Regions from separate parts of the Homo sapiens genome. Here region 2 is linked to region 1. Evidence: promoter capture Hi-C in human tissues and cell types (Jung and others, 2019). All regions are on one chromosome and are shown on one strand. The core of a region is centred on a gene start or on the middle of the fragment in contact, and the rest is flanking DNA. Distances in the headings are between cores, read along the strand shown. Region 1 holds the start of PLEKHG3 (pleckstrin homology and RhoGEF domain containing G3). Region 2 overlaps SPTB (spectrin beta, erythrocytic).

The links. Contacts are between HindIII fragments. The study calls those that stand out against the background at their distance.
Region 2: a fragment that was not itself captured here is called in contact with the fragment with the promoter of PLEKHG3 in region 1 in 2 of the 25 tissues and cell types used here (H1 embryonic stem cells and thymus).

The regions. Positions count from the first base shown.
Region 1 is chr14:64,702,504-64,706,918 of GRCh38, reverse strand. PLEKHG3 (pleckstrin homology and RhoGEF domain containing G3) reads right to left here and starts at 2,495. Exons shown (of 17, transcript NM_001308147.2): 1 at 2,215-2,495. RefSeq lists an enhancer at 3,715-4,216. The HindIII fragment of the contact is 6,175 bases long and covers 224-4,415 here.
Region 2 is chr14:64,787,660-64,792,074 of GRCh38, reverse strand. It overlaps SPTB (spectrin beta, erythrocytic), which reads left to right. Exons shown (of 36, transcript NM_001355436.2): 15 at 219-356. Among named protein-coding and RNA genes, the nearest start is that of MIR7855, 4.2 kb to the right of the region's middle. The HindIII fragment of the contact is 5,305 bases long and covers 1-4,415 here.

The DNA of each region.
Region 1 (4,415 bases), core at 1,246-3,745:
CCTCCAAGGCCAGGGCGGCCTGGGCTTGTGGCAGCACCCCTGGCTTACAGCTGGAGCCTTCACAAGGTTCTGGGAGCTGGGAGAAGAGAACGGGCAAGGCATACCTCTGCAACAGAGGAGCCTTCCCCCTCCAGCCCTGGTCATCCCGCAGGCCGTGGCCTTTGGCCTCTTCCAGCGTAAACAGTGACCGTGGGATAGCTGCGGATTTGGTAAGGCAAATGTTTACTCTGGGGCTGAGATATTAAGACCAGGGTGTTTTAAACATCCAACAATGGCTCCTGGTATCTAACGTCTCCTTGTGGCACACACGTGGGACATAGCCAGCAAATTGTAAAACCCTTGGGAGACTCCCTCCCGAGCCACTGTGAGCCCTTTAGTTTTAACAGGAGTTTATGGAGCACTTTCCACAAATGAGGCTTCCTTTGATCCTCACCACAGCTCCTATGAGGAAGAGCAGGCAAGTAATCCCACTTTATTTATGTGGAAACTGAGTCAGAAAAGATAAGTGAATTGGCCAGATCATGTTGGAGAAAACACAGATCAGACAATGAGGACATCTGACCTCTGGTTTCTACTTGGCCAATAGGGTCTAAGGCTGAAATCACCTCACCCCTCTGGGCTCTGCTGCCTTCACGAGTAAATGAAGTAGGCTAATCCAAGGGGCCCCCCAGCCCAAGTGACTCGCACTCTTCAACTCTACCAATCTTCCATGCTATGCAGAAGAGCCAGGTCTAAAACTCAGGCATAAACCCGTGCTGGACTATCAGGCCAGTGCTCTTTCCACTTCCCCTGCCATGCCACTTCTAATAAAAGGCAGTAGAAAAGCCCCCAAAGCAGCTCTTCAACAAATCACTCCCTCAGCAGCTAGGACTTGGCCTCTGGGTACCTCTTCCCCCAACTTCCTGCCCCATCCCCAGGGCAAGTTACCCAGGGAGCTAATGGGTTGTCCTATCTTCCAGGAAGGGAGTGGAGGACAGCAGGTGTCGAAAGGAGAAGTGAGGCCATTGCATCCAGGGGGCCAGCCCGGAACCACAGGGGAGAGATGTATAACAGAGAGATAAATGTACACTTTTGGTTCTCACTCCCTAGTTTCCTCCTGGGGAACAGCTGGGGTTTAATCACTCAGGATCCCATCCTTGTCCAACAAAGGATGGCCCGGAAAACCACACTGCTGAAGGCGAGGTGGCCGATGTGCTCAACGGGGAGGCCCTCCCCCGCTCCGGACTGTCATTGCCCTCCCTGCTTATTATTTCTTGAGCAAGGGCCATGTGACTGGGCTGCGTGCAGAGGCACGGCTGGGGAGACTCTGGGAACCCCCACTCCAGGGTTCCCCGTAAGGTGAACGCAGTGTGGGTCTCCTGCTGGGGCCCCCAGAGCAGGGGACAGGCACCTACATATGCCAACAGATTAGCGAGTGACCTCGAGGATCAAACTCTTTCGCGGCCTCTAACAACACCCTCCCCAAAAGCCACACCTCTCCAGCCTCCAACCATTCCATTCTCCCCTCCGTTCTTCCTTTTGTGTTCCAAAGGCGCCCCGAAGAGTCAAAGTAGCTATTTAACGCCTTAAAAATTTAAGCTTGCACGCCTTATACTGGCTTTCCAAACCAAAGGGCTGGGTGTAGGGGTGCGAAGAACCAAACCGACTTCAGGAGTGGACGAGGTCGAGGCAGCTGGTGGCCGGGCTTTCCGCTCCCCGCTTCTGGCCCCCACTCTCCTCCCTGCCGGACAGGTAGCCGAGATTCCCAACAGCGAGCACCGTGCGGCGCCAACCCGGAACAGGCTGCAGGCGCCTCCGGGGCTGGCAGGAGCCGAGGCTCGGGTCCTCGCGCAGAAGGGTCCACCCGCCAGGCCCACAGCTCCAGCCAAACACCAGCCCTCGGGCGCGCGCGGCCTCGCGGGCTTCCTGGATTTCAAACTGAGCCTCTCTGGAGCCGCCCGGCGCATTTGCCCCTTTTGTTTCCGGAGTGGAGGGAAAAAAAGACAGAAAAAGTCTCCCCATACGACCCTCCTGCGCTCGCGCACTCTGCGGCAGGGTGGCCCGGGAAGCAGCCAACACAGTTCCAGGCCCTCCTCGGTCGCCCCGGTCCTCACCCCGCAGGGGGCTGGCACGGGGGCCGCGAAGGGACTGGGGCCCCAGCGTGACTGCCGGCACCGCCGCTCAGCCTAATGCAGGGAGATAAGAGGGGAGAGAGGAGAATCAGGGGACACTCACCGAGCGGTAGCTGCCCCGCGGGCTCGGGACGCGCACGGCGTGCGGGGCTGCCCAGGTGCTGCCGCGACGCGGGCGCGAGTTTGAAAGTCGCTCTCTGAAGGGGCTGAGGCCGCCGACCGCTCCCGCCCACCGCCAGCCCCTCAGCTGGCCCGGACTCGGCCAGCTGCAAGCGCGGCCCCCGGAGACCCCAGGCAGCGCGCGGCTTGCCAGCGCCCGGCAGGAAGTCGAGCGGAGCCGGAGCTGCAGCGGGAGGGCAGGAGGGAGCGAGGGAGCGAGGGAGCGAGGGAGCGAGGGAGCGAGGGAGCGAGGGAGCGAGGGAGGGGCGGGCCAGGAATTTTTCCTGTGGGTGGAGACTCCAGCTCGCGGCTGCAGTCCAGCAATTGGCGGCTCTGCGGGGGCCGGGGCAACCTTCGCGGCGCGGCGAGCCAGAGCCGGGGTAAGGCTGCGGCGGCGGCGAGGCCTGGGCGCGGTTAACGATTAACGCCCGCAGGGTGATGAGCGCGCACCCCCGGGCAGCCTAGATGCTCTAGGATACCAAGACGCACGTGGTGGGGTCACCCTGGTGTCACAGACCTGCTATCACCGCCTCCCGAGACAGCATGGACTGCCAGAACGTACCCCTTGTATGGACAGGGAACACCGGGCCCTGCGAAGGGGGCTGAGGGCTTTCCCAAGTGAGTGACCAGCCGGGATCGATCTGGGGATCCTAATCCTACCAGAGCCGGCCGTGTCCGCTTTTCCAAGTCAGAAAGGCATGTCTTGAATTCCTCACCATAACTCGGTCCCTGTGACGCTTTACAGTGGTAAATGCAGACCTCTGAGAAGCTGACGGGAAAGAGATAAAGGAGACAACGTGAAGGCAACTCCACAAGGAACTGTTAAATAGGAAAAATAAAACACAGAAACCTGGATGATAGAGGACCCGTTTTTATAAAACAAAGAGAACCGTTTGTCTTTATGTCTCTGTATATGACCGTGTATGCATGGAAAGGTACACACCTGGAAACTGGGGGGCAAGGGGTGAGGATGGGGGACAGAGACATTCAATACATTTTGAGCAAGAGCATAAATCCAAAAACCCATAATAATTCATCAGTAAAGATCCTGAAGAACAACAAGCCCGGAGGAGGGAAGCCCAGAGTGGGGCTCCGGAAGAGGAACAACGCCCACTGGTTAGGCGCTATCACTAGTTCCTTGGGAGGAGGAATAGGACGCTGATATTAGAACCACGGGGTATATTTGTTATCCAGGTGTACAGCAAACGATTTCTAGAGGTATCATTTAAAACAAAACAAGCGCCCGCCCCAAAATGCTGCTCTGGGCAAATGCAAGCTCCAGGTGATCTACTGGGAGGGGAGAGGCGGGGCAGGCGCGGAAGGAAATGGCTTTCAGGTGACTTTGAAACTGGATCCTGGCGGAGGGTGGGGTGAAGGCAGCGTCCCGGCTCCTGCCTGCGGAGGAAGCGGTAGGCGCTCGGTCTGGCAGGCCCAGAAAGCGGGGCCCACATTCCTTAGGGAGGGAGGGTGTGTTGGAGGCTTGCAGAGCCCCAGACTCGCGGACCGTGAAGGTGAGAGCAGAGATTGCAGAAGAGGGGCTCGGAAATAGATCAACTTAGTTGGGGCTCCGCTAGACCCCGCCGGCCAGGGGAGAAGTGACAAGTCCCCCTTCTGGCCTTCCAGGACTTGTGGTCACCCCTTCCAACCTCAGGCTTTCACCTTTTTTTGTTTATGCTTTCTTATCTGATCACCTGAATCTTACGAATGCCTTCCGGTCCGCTTCAAATTCCAGCTTCCAAAGAAGCCCCCTGACTTAGCCACTTGTGAGCGACCCTTCACTCCTTAGCCAGGACACGTTACAGTGTTAGTGGCAGTCATAACTGTCCTTTAGTGAATGCTTACCATGCAGAGGGCCTGTGCTACACTCTTAACAAACTGTGTCCCTGGATCCTCACAGCCACCTTGCGAGGTAGGAGATATCCTAATCCCCATCTTGCAGACAGAACACTGAGGCTTAGGGGCAAGGAGCAACTTGGCAAAGATTACACAACCAGCAAAAGCAGTGTCGGGCAAGTGCCTAGATGGGTGTGTGCTTACTATGAGTGTGCTTACTATGTATTAGCCATTCTTCTAAGTACTTTACAAAAACAATTGCAGTAACAGAAAAGGAAACTGAGGCAAAGTCACACAGCTAGTGGGTGGTAG
Region 2 (4,415 bases), core at 859-3,358, 86 kb before region 1:
GGCCTGTTCCAGGCAATGCTAACTCATGAAATCAAACCCATGAACCAGAAAGGAGGGCCAGCATATCTGTTTTCTTCCTCCTGCCTCACCTGGGCAAATGGTTTAGGCAGTGGAAGGAGAAAGCAAGAGCTACATGTTCTGGAGACTGGGGGTGCCACTGGCAAGGAAATGTCTGCTGCCGCCTCACCCATCCTCATATTTTCCTTTGCCCATATCAGGTTCGACATCCTGGACCAGGAGATGAAGACCTTGATGACTCAGATTGATGGTGTGAACCTCGCTGCCAACAGCTTGGTAGAGAGTGGCCACCCACGCAGCAGGGAGGTGAAGCAGTACCAGGACCATCTGAACACCAGGTGGGGTGTGGGTAGGGCATGGGGCGGGGGCATTGTCTCTCAACATCTGACACACTGCTGGGGGCCGGGCCCAAAATTTAGTCCACCTAGTATGCACCAACACTTCTATACCCTCAACATTCCTGTCTTTTTTTTTTTTTTTTTTTTTTTTTTGACACAGAACCTCACTCTTTTACCCAGGCTGGAGTGCAGTGGTGCGATCTCGGCTCACTGCAACTTCCACCTCCTGGGTTCAAGCTATTCTTGTTCCTCAGCCTCCCAAGTAGCTGGGATTACAGGCGTGCGATACAATGCCTGGCTAGTTTTTGTATTTTTAGTAGAGATGTGGTTTCACCACGTTGGCCAGGCTGGTCTCATTCCTGGCCTCAAGCGATCTGCCCACCTCGGCCTCCCAAAGTGCTGGGATTACAGGCATAAGCCACCGCGCCCCCACCGACATTCCTGTCTGTCTCAGCCACAGTCCCCTTCCCAGTAGTACTGGAACTATAGCAGCAAGGAGGAATGATTGAGGTGGTGAACAGCCCAGGGAGGGAGAGAGACGAGTCCTGGGAGGCTCGAATGCTGTGCCTGGGGAGGGTGGGTGTGTATGTGTGATGGAGGGCACATCCCAAGTGTGCCCAAACTTAGAATCAGGCCATATGCTTCTCATGCTATATTTCCCTGGACATTCTTGGGCAGAGAAAATTGCTTTCTGAGAGCTCTTAAGTACTGTCCATAAAATAATGCTCCTGCCTCTGCCAAATGCAGTATCGATAATGAGGCTGGCTTGAAGGAAGAGGAGAATTAGCAGGGAGCCTTAAGCAAGCTTTGTGGCCAGAACAAAAAATAGGCCCCAAGGAGCCTTTAGAGAGGGGGTGCTTTCAGTGTGGGGTGAAATTGCCCATGAGTTCCTGGAGGATCTTTGAGGACACCGCAAATGCCTGCATTCCCTGTCTTTACCGTGGGCCCTGCACATGCAATGCCACATGTTCACCACCTCCCCATTACCCCAGCCCCTTCCCCACACCTGTGCCTGAGCGTTGCTCTGCCTGAGGCAATCTGGGAGGTGGGCCTAGGGAAGACTCCATTGTAAAGAAAGGGATCGGCACAGTGGAGAGTTCACTGGGGGGCTAAGGGGAGGCAGCGATGACCAGAATTCTTTAGAGCCACTAGAATGGGATGATTGTCTTAGCAGCCCAAGCTGCAGAGTGCGGTTTAGGAGATTCCTTTGTCAATCTGATGTTTTACAAAGGAAGAGAATACCTCTTCCCTCTTCTTTCGCCTTGTAGGTAATGAGTTTGTGTGTGTTGGTGGGCAGGAGGTGGTAGAGATTATTGCAATTGCTGCATAATTGAGGAAACTAGAGCAGGTCTAAACCAGAGAAACTTCCTGAGAGGAAGAACTCATCAGCTCAACAATAAACTATAGTCTGAGAATGTTGATCTTTACAGACCCCTAAAACAGGCCCCATCCCCAAGAGAAAAATATCAAGGTACCTGCCATCCTTAAGTGAGAAAAAAACCCGAGGCATGAAATTAAATTTGAGAGTTGAAAGGAACCTGAGAAGTCACCCAGTCTAGCCAGTGATGGGGAACTCACTCCCTCACCCGGCAGCCTATCTCATTTTTGGGCAATTCTTTTTGGTTAAAAAGTTTGCTCTTCCATTGAGTGGAAATCTGCCTCCTTGAAATGCGTACATATTGATTCTGGCTCTGCCCTTGAGAGATATCACACTTACCCTGGTTCCTCTTCCGTGTATAGCTCTTCAATTATTTTTCAGAACAATGCTCATTCTATACCTCCACCCCCAGTGTCGCCTCATGCCTCTGCGGTTCTTTCCCTCAGGGTGCATTCTCCCTCCCTCTACATATTCCAAATCCTGTCTCTGCATGAGCCAGTCCAAGTCGCTTGCTTTCCAGTTTTCCAGATGAAAAGCAATCTTTTCCTCCTTTGTACTGGTTTTGAGCTTCATATCCTATCTTACATTCTAATTATTTTTGTCCCCAAGGACTTTCCTGCTAGACTATGTAAACAAATGAAGACCTGTATCTATTTATATTGCCCAAGGGCTTTGCACACCTAATACATTTTTGGGGTTCCTGCTGTTTAGAGTATTATTTTCCTAGCTATGCCCTTGGCTTACTCTTTTTATTCAGGTCTCAGCTCAAATGTCAGCTTACTGGCATGGCCCCCGCTGACCGCCCCATGGAAAGCAGCACATCCTTCCTCTCACTGACCCACTTGGCCTCTATATTGTTACCTTCTTTTATTTTTTCTTTGCGCTTATCACCACTTGATGGATTATAGACTTGTTTATGTCTCTATCCACTTGAATGAAAGCAAGGACTTTGCATTACTCTTTATTAATTAATTAATTAATTTTTTATAGAGACAGAATCTCACTCCATTACCCAGGCTGGAGTGCAGTGGTACAATTTTGGCTCACTGCAGCCTCAGCCTCCCAGGCTCAAGTGATTCTCCCATCTCAGTCTCCTGTGTAGCTAATGCTACAGATGCACACTACTATACCCAGCTAATTTTTTGTTTTTTTTGTAGAGATGAGGTCTCACTATGTTTCTCAGGCTGGTCTTGAACTCCTGGGCTCAAGAGATCCTCCGGCCTCAGCCTCCCAAATTGCTGTGATTTACAGGTGTGAGCCACTGAGCCCAGCCTGCATAGTTCTTTGTCATATCCCTAGTGCCTAGGTCAGTGTCTGCCACAAGGCAACTGAGAGTTGCTTGATAAATGCTTAGTACATGAGTGAACTGGGAAAAAACTAAGGTTTTTCTGCCAAGCTTATGTGTGAGTCATTCAAACACTTGATGAATGTGTGATCATCTTTCACCGTATGCTTTCCAGTTGAAGAAAAACCTGGCCCAGGACCAAACCTAGACTCTTGATGTTGCCTGACCAGTGATAACTAGAGTGGCTCTATCAACCTCCTCCATCTCAAAGACAGTGCAGTGGAGGGGGCAAGTGTAGGTTTGGGAAGCAGACTAGACCCAAGCTCCAGTGCATCTTGGTGTGGCCTCCACCCAATGGCTACAGTGAGGCCACTCCAGGAAAGGCCTGGAAAATCACTATGGGGCCTCTTGCCTGGGGACACAGCCAGACCCTCTCCCAGGAACACTTCCCTGTCGATTCCAGGGCTTTCAAACAAACTTGGAGAAAACCCCTTGATTTCCTAGCCTCAGAGCACCATCTGTGTGCCAGACAGGCACGGAATTCCCAGAGCACGGGGTCTTCATGGTCTAGGATGGGAGCCGAGAAATCTGCAGGCTCTCTCTCCTCTCTCGTATCCCTGGTCTCTCCCAGCCTGTCTCTTATATCTCTCTGCAGACCTTTCAAATCATACTGGCTGCTGTTGTCACACCTTGGGAATGCACAACAGCGCTCTCTGTCCAGTCCATCTCCTAGTCCCTCAGCCTCCATCCCCTGAGGCAGGGTACAAAGATGAATGAGACACTTGGTCCCATCCTTTAATTGGTCACTCCAGTGGAGGCACTGGGGGTGTGTTCACTGACTGGGGCTTTGTGTCCAGTGATGGGTTGTGTGGAGGTCACGTGAGCAACTGTCACCCCATTGCTCCTTCCAGCTGCCTTAATCCTCCTCTCTGCCTGTTAGGTGCTGTGCACATGAAACTTTATGCTATGTTATTTGTGAGCTTGTCTGAATATTTCTCTAAATCATACACCCCACAGGGCATGGTCTGGTTATGTCTATATTCTCCCAAAGGCCAATAAAATGGCTTATACCCCTGTGGGTGTTCGAGAAAGATGGGTTCGATTAGAGAATGAGCATTCAGCCTGCATATTACAGTGATGCAGAATGAGTGAACCTAGGCCCAAGGGCAGTGTCCCTAGTGGTCTGGCCTGGCTGATGGGCAGCTCTTTGAAAGAGGCTTATCGTGTACTGCAGACTGACCCCAGGCCCCCAGGCATCCGCCAGACCTTAGCACATTTCCGTATTTCATAGCAACACTGCACTCGAAGGTTAAGATTATGCTAGTCACTTAAATTATCATCACAACTTATTCCTCCCCATTCTCTTCTTCCCTGTCCTCTTCTTCCTCTTCTTTTT